Regions from separate parts of the Homo sapiens genome. Here all the other regions are linked to region 2. Evidence: promoter capture Hi-C in 16 types of primary human blood cells and fetal thymus (Javierre and others, 2016). All regions are on one chromosome and are shown on one strand. The core of a region is centred on a gene start or on the middle of the fragment in contact, and the rest is flanking DNA. Distances in the headings are between cores, read along the strand shown.

Region 1 (3,595 bases), core at 919-3,418, 1.3 Mb before region 2:
ACAAAATTCCTATCCAGGCCGGACGCAGTGGCTCACACCTGTAATCCCAGCACTTTGGGAGGCCAAGGTGGGTGGATAACCTGAGGTCAGGAGTTCGAGACAAGGCTGACCAACACGGTAAACCCTGTCTCTACTAAAATATAAAAATTAGCCGGGCATGGTGGCAGGTGCCTGTAATCTCATCTACTCGGAGGGCTGAGGCAGGAGAATCATGTCCAGAGGGTGGAGGATGCAGTGAGCAGAGATCACACCATTGCACTCCAGCCTAGGCACCTAGAGCAAAACTCCATCTCAAAAAAAACAAAATAAAAACTATCCACAAAAAAACAAGTCATATTCTTTATATCTATAAATATCAGTTTTATTAACGTAATAGGTCACAGAAGCTTTCACTTGGGATTAGAGTTATTTCTTATGACACAGCAGAGCTTCTTTAACGTATTATATTTTCAGTATAGAGAAAGGTAGAAAAGGGGGGCTGAGAAGAAACTAAAAACCAATAAAAACCAAGATTGACTGTCCTTGCAGAGATCATCAGGGAAACCTATCAGTGGCTGTTAACAGCCATCTGGGAGATAAACACAAACAACTAAAAACAAAGACTTTTAGAAAGCCTGAAGCTTCTATCAGGATGATTTGAGAGTAATCTTGGAAGTGGTAGGAATACTGGAACTGGAAATGAATAAACCAAAACCTACTAATGAACTTTATCGTATACCATGATTAGAAAAAAGCTATGAGAAAAAGCAGGAAGTCCAATATACCAATCAGGGTCCGTTAAACTCAATTTTAGCTTTTCCATTTCTTTTATAAACAGATCTAACTATTCAAAGGGATCAATATCTCATGACTTATATTCTTCCTTACGACATATTCCAAAAAACAAGAAAGTTTACTTCTCTAAGACTAGAACAGAACTCACCCTTATTCTGTAATTATTATATGTATCCACTGGGCCCTTTTATAAATGTAAGGTAGAATCTAGTGATCTTATTTTTCCTATATCTTGAAACACTTTACAATTTCATCAACATTCATCAGTTATTCTCAGCTATGCTTTAAATAAAGACTAAAATGGAACAGAGGAATGATGGCATCACCTAGAGGATACAACAGTGAAATAAACTGTTAATGTTCATACAGTTTCCTTACTGCATAGCCTGAGGTATCACATCTCTTTCAAAACAGTTCAAAAAGACCAAAGACACCATCCTTGTAGTCTGCTTTTAGCTACCGTTGACCAGTTGATAATTATGAATTTTTTTCACTCATAATTGCGAAGAGAAGAAAAATTTACAGAGGAAGGCCTTTCTAATTATTAGAGATATCAGACAACAGATGCAAAGAGTACTGATAAATGTGAAATTATCTTACAAAGCAAAACCTCAGACTATGAAGTCTGAGATGGTGACATCTTAGATGAATGTTCTCAATGTATTTCTCAAACGATGTATTTCTCAAACGATGTATTTCTCAAACATTGTTCTCAAACAATGTATTTCTAAGGAGAAGAGGGAAAGATGATGTGTATTCTCATCCAGTTAATGACTCAACTGAGACTCCATCATGCAAAATCCTCCAACAAGAACCCAGATCATCCTGGTTTGCTAAAAGGGTATATGACAGTATTCTTCCATCTTTTAAGATGTTTGTGGTCAGGCACGGTGGCTTACACCTATAATCCCAAAACTTTGGGGAGCCAAAGCAGGTCGACTGCTTGAGAGCTCAGGAGTTCAAGACCACCCTGGACAACATGATGAAACCCCATCTCTATCAAAAATACAAAAGAAATTAGCCAGGTGTCGTAGCGTGCACCTGTGGTGCCACCTACATGGAAGGCTAGGGTGGAAGGATTGCTGGAGCCTGGGAAGTTGAGACTGCAGTGAGCCAAGATTGTACCACTACACTCAACCCTGGGTGACAGAACGAGACCCTGTCCAGGGGGAAAAAAAAGGTAAAATAAAAATTGAAGATAAAATTTTAAGAAATGTTTGTGTGCCAAAATGTACTTCGTAAGTGGAAATGTCAAAAGCAGATGTGTATACAAAGGTAACTCGAAAAAGAAAGATAATGAAATGCAAAAATATTCAATAGATTAGTCAATCCAACTGACTAAATGTGCTAAAATTACAGCACAGAGATGGCTATCCCTTCTTCAATAGAATGAGATGTCATTAAAAGTTCCAAAGTATTCAAGGACTGCATTCTGATGATCCAACTGTAAGAATAACCAGAATAAGCTAGAATTTATTAGAGATATATTTTAAATCTGCTATCAATATTTATAAGATTGGTATGTTCTAGGTTCATGTATAACAGTGAGCAGTTAGTTACATTTAGAGAACTGCATTCATTGTAGATACATATATCATCAAAACCTGGAAAATATGAAAAAGTTAGATTTGCTATGTTTAAACCCTCACTAAAATGTCTAATAAGGCCATGCGTGGTGGGGCTCACGCCCGTAATCCGAGTACTCTGGGAGGCTGAGGTGGGCAGATCACTTTGGCTCCAGAGTTCGAGACCAGCCTGGACAACATGGTGAAACACCATCACTATGCAAAATACAAAAGTTAGCCAGGCATGGTGGCATGTGCCTGTAATCTCAGCTACTTGGGGGCCTGGGGTAGGGTGGAAGGATCTCTTGAGCCCAGGAAGTCAAGGCTGCAGTGAGTTGTGTTTGCTTCACTATACTCCAGCATGGAGTCAATAATGGCCTTTAAAAAAGTCTAATAATGGGGGGCACAGTGGCTCATGCCTGTAATCCCAGCACTTTTGGAGGCTGAGGCAGGAGGACTGCTTGAGCCCAGGAGTTTGAGACCAACCTGGACAACACAGGAAGATTTCGTCTCTATAAAAAAAATTTTTTTTTAATTAGCCAGGTGTGGTTGGTGCATGCCTCTAGTCCCAGCTACTTGGGAGGCTGAGGAAGGAGGATCACTTGAGACTGGGAGGTCAAGGCTGCAGTGAGCCATGATCATGCCACTATACTCTAAACTGGGTGACAGAGCGAGACCCTGTCTCAAAAAAAAAAAAGGTCCAATAACGACCTTACTACCCTTTCATTCTTTCTGCTACAAAATTATTTGGTAAACGATCAGTGATGACTGTTTTCCCAAGTATACTGAGGGTTACAAAAAGAATATTCTAGGCCGGGCGCGGTGGCTCACGCCTGTAATCCCAGCACTTTGGGAGGCCGAGGTGGGTGGATCACCTGAGGTCAGGAGTTCGAGACCAGCCTCAACATGGAGAAACCCTGTCTCTACTAAAAATACAAAATTAGCCAGGCGTGGTGGTGCATGCCTGTAATCCCAGCTACTCGGGAGGCTGAGGTAGGAGAATTGCTTGAACCTGGGAGGCGGAGGCTGCGGTGAGCTGAGATCGCGCCATTGCCCTCCAGCCTAGGCAACAAGAGCGAAACTGCATCTCAAAAAAAAAAAGAATATCCTAACAACCAAAAGAAGGTGCCCATTCGAGTAACTATCTCAGAGAGGCAGTTCGAATATCTCTTGTTAATGTGGGTAAATCAAGCCTCATTTGCTGAAAATGTTATGTCTTAAAACTACCTAACCCCCTTATTCTATTTTCACCAAAG
Region 2 (3,875 bases), core at 608-3,107:
AATGATATGGAGTTACCATAAATAAAAAAACTAAATGTCACAGAGAGGATACTAACTCTGATACTCCAGTGTGTGTCGAGCAAAAGTGCTTTGAAGCCAGCCAAAATCAACCCACAGATAATAAAGGAAACTTTGGAAATGTTGCCGCTCATTTGGACTTTTCTTTTCCCCTCTGACAATAGTCCACATGCTATGAATAAAATACATTAGACCATTGCGAGACCTGCCTCGGTCCATCCAATCCATGCGCCTCCCAATGCATTGAGATCTGCCGGGTGACATATGAGATCTAAAGTGGGTGGATAAAAATAACCTGGTCCTCAAAAAGACATGATAAACGCCAGACAGCTGAGTCACTTTGAAGCCCATTTTGACTTTTGAAAGGGACATTCACCCTCCTGCTGCTTCTCACACATTCACATAGAACCAGGTGAAAACCACCACCAACCGCCCCGGGTGGAAGGCGGCGATCCCTCTCAGCTTCCTCCTCATTCTCCGAGGTCACGACTCGGGATTGAACTTTTAATAATTTATACTTGCGCATGTCAGTCCAAGTGACTCATTTAGAAGGGCAAGGTGGGGAAGGCTTAAGAAAACCATCGCAATCCAGTAGATCCCCTATTTCTGCTGCCCGAGTGGAGGCACCGGAAGGTTTCGTCTGACATTTTTTTTTTTTTTTTTTTGAGACGGAGTCTCGCTCTGTCGCCCAGGCTGGAGGGCAGTGGCGCGATCTCGGCCCACTACAGCCTCCTCCTTCCCGGTTCAAGCGATTCTCAAGCCTCAGCCTCCCGAGTAGCTGGGACTACAGGCTCCCGCCACCGCGCCCGGCTAATTTTGGGGTTCTTTTTTAGTAGAGATGGGGTTTCGCCATATTAGCCAGGCTGGTCTCGAACTCCTGACCTCAAACGATCCGCCCGCCTCCGCCTCTTAAAAAGTGCTAGGATTTCAGACGTGAGCCACCGCGCCTGGCCCTGACATTCTAAAGACAAGAAAAGGAGTGGGGTGAAATGGGAACTGGTGGAAGAAAAGCTCAGAGAGCAAATCAGAATTGTCCAGAAGTGGGGATCCCTGAGCAAAGCAAGTGGTCCCAGAAAAAGAAGGGCTGTGTGTGTCCCGGGGTGTGGGGGGATCATCCCGTCCACCTACCCGCCCTGCGCTCTGCCCCGCGGAGGACGCAAACGATCTGCAACGTGCAGTTCGGAACAGGGAACTCTTGTATTTCATCTATCTTTAAACGGCGGCGGGGCTGTGTGCAAGCTGCTGGGAATCGGGCCCTTCCAGCCTGGGGAGGCTGGCGGAGCAAAACCACCAGCACGAGCCAGTCCTCGGCTGCAGCAGCCCTGGGGCGCTCACTAAGTGTCTGCCGAACTGCAGTGTTCCTGAGCCAACTCTGCCGCCCGGAGGAAGAGAAGAGGTCCCGGCCGCCACTGCGCATCTTCTCCCCCGGCTTCACGTGCCGCAGGCCGCCGGCCCCGCGACCCTCCCCCGAGGCGCCTCACTTACGGGAGAGTCGTAGGAGAAGGCGCACTCGTTCTTGTAGACCCTGTCGCCGGACCTGGGCACGCGGATCGTGGGCATGTGGGGCACTAGCAGCTCGCCGATGTCTCCTGCAGCCATCTTCCTGCCTCCGCTGCCGCCCGGCATGCCGAACAGGGCGCCCCGGCGCTGCATGGCCTCGGCGCGCACCGGAGCCGAGCGAGCCGAGCCGGAGCCGGAGCGCGGGGTCTGCCGGCGGCGGCGGCGCCAGCGAGCGGGCTGACGGGCGGGCTGCGCGGGCAACGGCAGCCGGCCGAGCCGGGGCGGGCGGGGAGAGCGGGCTGCGGGGCGGGAGCGGGCACCGCGGGCTTGGGGCGGACTGGCGACGCTATTTTTAATCCAATGGCGAGTCTCCGGCCCAGCTGCAGCGTCAGGCGGGGCTGGGGAGCGCCAGCCGCAGCGTGCCGGGGAGGGGGCGCTGGAGAGGGGCCCTGCGCGTGGGCCGGGCGCGGCGGCGGGGGGCGGAGGGCGAACCCCTGAGGCGTTGGCGCGGGAGCTCGAGCGGGCTGGCGGCCGAACGCGGCGCGGGAGGGCCCCGGGAAAACACCACGGAGGTGTTTTCTATCCCGAATTGTTGGCTTGCAGAGGGGCAACTCCGAGGAGGCCAACACAAAGAGCAGGATTGGGGGTTTTAAAAACCGCTTGCTTTTAAAACAGCCGAAGACTAGGGCGGTGACGTCCCCGGATTGGATAGGGGCGGGACTCGATGTGCAAATCTGAAATCTAACGTGAGGCTTAAATCTAAATTTGCGCCATGCACTTCAGTGCTTCCCCACTAAGCTTCGTTCCTTACTTTAACATCCAAGGCTCAAAAATAGAGCGAATAGAATAAGATCGAGTGAGGATAGAGGGTGTGTGTGTGGGGGAGGGCGGGGTGTGTGTGGGAGTGTGTGTGTAATAATAATACAGGTTTTCTTACATATTGGGGGAAGTCAGGGATGGTCAAGATTTTTTCAGGGCGTCGGAAGGCTTTCTATTTTTCTCTGCCTTTGGAGTATCTTCTATGTGATTCAAAGTTCTCATGTCGAACATTCAGTGGCCTGATTTGAGGATTTTGTAGGCAGGCATACATATTCCTGTCTTGATCATCAGTTCCTCAAAATAAATGATGAATGGGGTTGGCCTCGGGGGTTGATCATTTGCAAGCAGAGCATGTCTCCCAGCATACTCTCATTCTCTCCAAAAAACCCACAAGACGGGTTCAATGACATTGAGGTTCTCTAACTACACCCAACATATGTATTCATGACAGAGTATCCAGTGATCCCTGCCAGTTAATGAAATGCAGAAATAGCGAGAAATAGTGAACCAAAACGCTAATTTTTGTAAGCCTCTCTCAGATCAGATAGTCCTTAAGTTCTTTTTTTTTTCTTACTTTTTTTCTCTTTTAACTCTCCCTGGTTCTCCAGACCTATCTCAAGATTTCCATACCCTCAAGCAAGCCTCGAGCGCACCACACTTTCTTATAACTCAGCACTCCCAAATGCTATCTGTTGGAAAAGGAGGAGGTGGCACTGAGCAAAAAATCAGACACTACTGTCATCTTCCTCATTGGGCAGATCCTCTCAGCGAGCTTTTGCTTTGAATTTAGTCTCATCAGCTTATTACCTTTCACGTTAATGGATGATGTTTTCTCCAATTACAGAGATAAACTTGGTTTTACAAAACTTAAAATTTAATCTTAGATTAAATACAAATTAAATCAGTGAGACACTGTTTTTCATCCTTTGGGCTGGTAAAGATATATTGAGTTAGCATGGGTTTGGGAAGTAGACCCTCATTACATTGTTGGTGGGGATAAAAACGATAAACCTCTTTGGAAGGAAATGTAATAATACCAGTCATAACTTTATATGTGCATACTGTTTTCCCCAGCATTTCCTTGTCTAGACATTTATGCAACAGATAAATTAAGGCTGTGTAAAGATATTTGTTAGAGCACTGTTTCGAGTAACAAACGTCTGGGGAAAACCTAAAGATCCTTCTGTAGAAAGTGGTTAAAATACAGTACCATTGAAAAGAATGAAGTTGCTCTACGTGTGCTGATGTGGAACAATCTCCAAATTATTACTAGATGATAAAAGCAATTTAAGCAAACTAGTGTATAAAAGCAAGGAATACATGCAAGGCTGATAATATGCAGTAGGCATTTTGGCACATCCTATATACCATGGGCCTTCATTCCAGTTGGTTGTACTTGTAGTAAATATTTTTAATGTAGCCCCTTAAAATATACATATGTGTATGCATGCCCACTTGTTTGGCTTTAGGATGTCTCTAGAGCAATACACAAGAAACTAGTCAGGCTCTGTGGAGAAGAACTGAAAGCCTGAGGTTAA
Region 3 (4,196 bases), core at 475-2,974, 1.3 Mb before region 2:
CTGAACACTTCTTTATTAGAATTTTGCTGTTTAGGTTTCAATACTGCATTAAATAAAAACATATATAAGAAAATGAGAACATAAAGATATGATATTAAAGGGCAGGGACACAAACTTACAACTCTACAACAAATTGAAGATAGTTCAGGTTTAATATAACTTTGTCAGCATTAGATGATCCTTCAATTAAAGCATGAAATTTGCATTTATTTCTATTTTCCTTAAATGCCTTACATTTTGGAAAAGGTTTTATATTTCCTCAAAAGGGAGTAAGTATAGGAGTGAAGAAAAGAAAAGGAAAAGAGAAAATAAAGAGAAGGGGCGAAGGAAAAAAACAAATCAGGTCACTGCTAAGATCCAAGTCCAAATGTAGAAAAATGGAACAACTCCAAAGCTGAAGAAGAATAAGGGAGAATTTAGGATTAGAGAATTGTTGACTATCACCACTCCACTGTCCCCCTTCCTATCTGGGTTAGACCCAATCCTCACAGTGAAATACATTTTAGAAAATGTTCATTTATAAAGTGTTAAATTAGATTCTGGCTTTCAGAGTCTTCATTTTAGTGAAATGTTGTTAAATAAAATAATTCCAGATGTGAGATGTTAATATATTCAAATACGCCAAATGAGTAAGTAAAATATTTTTTAAAAGCTAGTAAAAAGACTTGCTATATGCAATCTTGGCAGTGATTCGCACACTTTTCATTTTTTACTTAAAGAGGGTAGACAAAAGATGATTCCTAGAAGTATCACCACCACCATTACTAGGTATTTACTGGGAAATGTATAAAACTGTACTAGTAAAGTATTTGAAAAACAAGTTACATATGTATTCTTTGTAAATATAATAAACATGACAATGAACTACCAACTTAAAAACATGCTTTGCTTCATTACATAACTGCTTGGAAATTTTATATATTTTACTGTCATTTTAATGTATACTATCACTACTATTAAGACGTGTACTAAACCTTCAGAACTACCTTCTACCCTCAAAGCCAAGACAGAGTAATGAACTAATTATAAGAAAATGTGTTAGAGCACCTAAACTATAACTACTATTATTACTATTACCAAAAAAAAAAAAAAAAAATTTTTTTTTACCATAACCGGAGGTGTAATTAGGTCCCCGACGACCTCTGCCTCTTCCGCTATAAGACCTAGAACCTTGTACAGAAGAGACGGTACTTTCATCAGTGGCATATCCTTTCTCTTTTTCAGGCCCTCTGGTGGAAGAAGGTCTGAAACCCATACCAATCTGTCGCAGCTGTTCATCAATCTGTAGGCGTTCCATTCTTAGCTGTTCTACTTCCTACAATCAAAACAAAAAAGAGTAAGTCTTCTTATATATAACTTTTTGTTTTCCTAAAGCCTAAAGCTAAAGCTGTACTCCCTATCAAAGCTGTGACCTTAGGCAATTAGATGGTAAAGAGCATTGTGTTCCTAGTCAACAGAATTGATGAGGTCATTTGCTGTTTCTGTTCAACATTTACTGAATGGTCTAGAGTGTGCCAAACATGCTACTATAGGCATACAATATAAAAGAAGACATGGACTCTCCCCAATCAAGGGGATGTTTAACAGACAGCTTTAAAATAAGTTATTTATTAAATAGCTAACAATTATACAATATTACCAGATTTTGCCCTCAAGGAGTTAGAATTGCTGAATGAGATACAGGTAGCATCTATGAAAGGTACTATTAACAAGCTACTTTCCTATCAAAGCAGTGACACGAGTTGTGACCTAGAAGGAGTGCTAGACTTTGTCATTCAGAAATTGAGGTCATTACAGGATGCAAAGGTTAGATGTCTAGAGAAAGCTCTTGGTTAAAAGATGAGTACTGAAAGATAAAGCACTGGCTTCAAAATGCCAGCTTTAATTGCGACTTTTCATATAAAGATGAATTTCAAAAGAAAAGAAATGACATTATCAGAGTGATCTCAAAATAGTAACAGCAACAATGATACGACAGACTGGGAGGAAAACATACTAGAGGCAGAGAACAGGTGAGGATATTATTATACTTTAAAAAGAAACACAGCAGGAATAAAAGGGAAAGAGTAGAAAATAAAATTAAAATGTTTAATAATTTATGGGTCATATTTTTCTAAAAACCCTTGCTCTTTATGTATCAACTCAAATAGACTATTTTGTTAACAATGGTTACAAATTATCGAGTAATGTCAGTGGAGATGATGCAGATGATTTGCATAATGCCAAAGTTACCAAGGAAGCCCAATGTCACTCCTGGTTCTGTACCCTATTTGTATGTAAAGTACAAAAGTAAAAACAAAATGGCTCCAGTATGAACATGCAGATACATAAGTGATCTGAGAGTCAAATTGCATGAAGACAAAGGAATCATTTCTTAAGAAAGAAAGAAATATAAAAGCTCAGAAAGAAGAGAAATTATGCACACAAGGCCAATCATTTTATGATGACAAAGGACTTTTTAAATTCTCATGTAGAACAATGGCAAATCTGAAGCTGAATTAACAAAAAATATTTAAAGATTTGAAGTTTACTTCAAATATAAAATGTTTAATGTGAGGACATTTTAAATTTGTAGCAAATGTACAACATTTATGTAGTAAATGCAGCAACAATATCAGAATATAGTATGAACCGTATACAAACCTTTAGATAGGCAATATGATACTCTAGAAGAACCTGCACATTTCCAATGCTTTCTTTAGTGCCAACAAATACAAATGGAACCATACCCTGTTTAAAAAAAAAAAAAAGTATTCAGTGTTTAATATTTTAACAAAGTTCTAGCCTAAAAGTGACATGAAACTGACAGGCAGGCACACACACACACACCTTTTTTTTTTTTTTTTTTTTTTTTTTTTGAGATGACGTCTTGCTCTGTTGCCCAGGCTACAGTGCAGTGTTACAATCACAGCTCACTGCAGCATCAAACTCCTGGGCTCAAGTGATTCTCCTGTCTCAGCCTCCAGAGTAGCTGGGACTATAGATGCGTGTCACCACAACCAGCTATTACTTTTTATTTTTTGTAGAGACAGGGTCTTGCTCTGTTGCCCAACTCCTTGCCTCAAGCAATCCTCCTGCCTTGGCTTCCCAAAGCGCTGGGATTATTGACTTCGTAAAGAGGTTACAGGCGTGAGCCACTGTACCCAGCCCCAATATATAATTAGGAAAACTCTTCTGAAACACGCAGCAATTTACATGTACTAAACTTCAAGATTTAAGGAGAAAAAAATGCTAAAATCCATGTAAGTTGAAATACTCAGATTTTCAATAACTTGTCATATTTGCACCCCAATTTACTGTTGTAAATTGTCTTCTGTGTGCTAAACACTTTAAAAATAATTTTAAAAAATCAGTTTATATCAAGTTTTCTGATTTATAATTAATTTAATTTTCCAAGTATATAAATCAACTTTTAAAGTTAAAATGATTTTCTGGCAGGTCATGGTGACTCACACCTGTAATCCTAGCACTTTGGGAGGCTGAGGCAGGTGGATCACTTGAGTTCATGAGTTCGAGACCAGCCTGGGCAGCATGGAGAAAGCCCATCTCTACAAAATATACAAAAATTAGCTGGCAGGGTAGCACATGCCTGTAGTCCCAGCTACTTGGGAGGCTGAGGTAGGAAGATAGCTTGAGCCTGGGAGGCAGAGATTGCAGTGAGCCAAGACTGTGCCACTGCCCTCCAGCCTGGACAAGAGAGCAAGAATCTGTCTCCAGAAACAAAAAACAACGATTTTCCTTCAAACTGTCTATAAACTTACAGACTAGATAGATACATCACCTTAGTAGGTATAGCTTTAAAGCATAATAAAGCACATTAACCCAGTTATCCCTACAGTATGTGCTCAGGTAACAAAATCTTGAGTGTCTGTGTACTACAAGAGGTACTTCCTGACCACTAAAAGAAATATCACCTCCAGAGCATAAATATTTACACAATGTAAAATTAAAGGAATTATTAAGATACGTAGAGGTATTCAAGTAAATCAAAGTATTAGGCCAGACTTGGTTTACTTTGCTGAACTTCTGAATAAGAAGATTTTTAAAAAGTGGCAGAAAAGAGAAATAAGATGGCACACTGTGAATTTTTCTTCTTTAAAGAAACATACTTCCAGCTTCTTAATGGCTGAGAAAAATGAGAGTAAAGCTTAACTCCCCCAATCAGTTTCCATGTCTCCCATTTTCTTCATTTTACA

What was found. Contacts are between HindIII fragments. The CHiCAGO score rates a contact against its expected background, and 5 or more counts as called.
Region 1: a contact is called between a fragment that was not itself captured here and the fragment with the promoter of USP13 in region 2, in 4 of 17 cell types (M0 macrophages, M1 macrophages, naive CD8 T cells and 1 more). The highest score is 6.8, in M0 macrophages.
Region 3: a fragment that was not itself captured here is called in contact with the fragment with the promoter of USP13 in region 2 in 1 of 17 cell types (M1 macrophages); the score reaches 6.1 in M1 macrophages.

Annotation. Positions count from the first base shown.
Region 1 is chr3:180,943,768-180,947,362 of GRCh38, reverse strand. The region is part of intron 3 of FXR1 (FMR1 autosomal homolog 1); the gene reads right to left. Among named protein-coding and RNA genes, the nearest start is that of FXR1, 33 kb to the right of the region's middle. The HindIII fragment of the contact is 3,091 bases long and covers 623-3,595 here.
Region 2 is chr3:179,651,022-179,654,896 of GRCh38, reverse strand. It overlaps USP13 (ubiquitin specific peptidase 13), which reads right to left and starts at 1,857. Exons shown (of 21, transcript NM_003940.3): 1 at 1,504-1,857. The coding sequence starts at 1,671. RefSeq lists an enhancer at 1,384-2,027 and silencers at 1,696-2,035, 2,046-2,125. The HindIII fragment of the contact is 8,280 bases long and covers 1-2,318 here.
Region 3 is chr3:180,960,002-180,964,197 of GRCh38, reverse strand. FXR1 (FMR1 autosomal homolog 1) reads right to left here. Exons shown (of 17, transcript NM_005087.4): 11 at 2,644-2,730; 12 at 1,258-1,315; 13 at 1,108-1,170. Among named protein-coding and RNA genes, the nearest start is that of DNAJC19, 28 kb to the left of the region's middle. The HindIII fragment of the contact is 4,850 bases long and covers 1-4,149 here.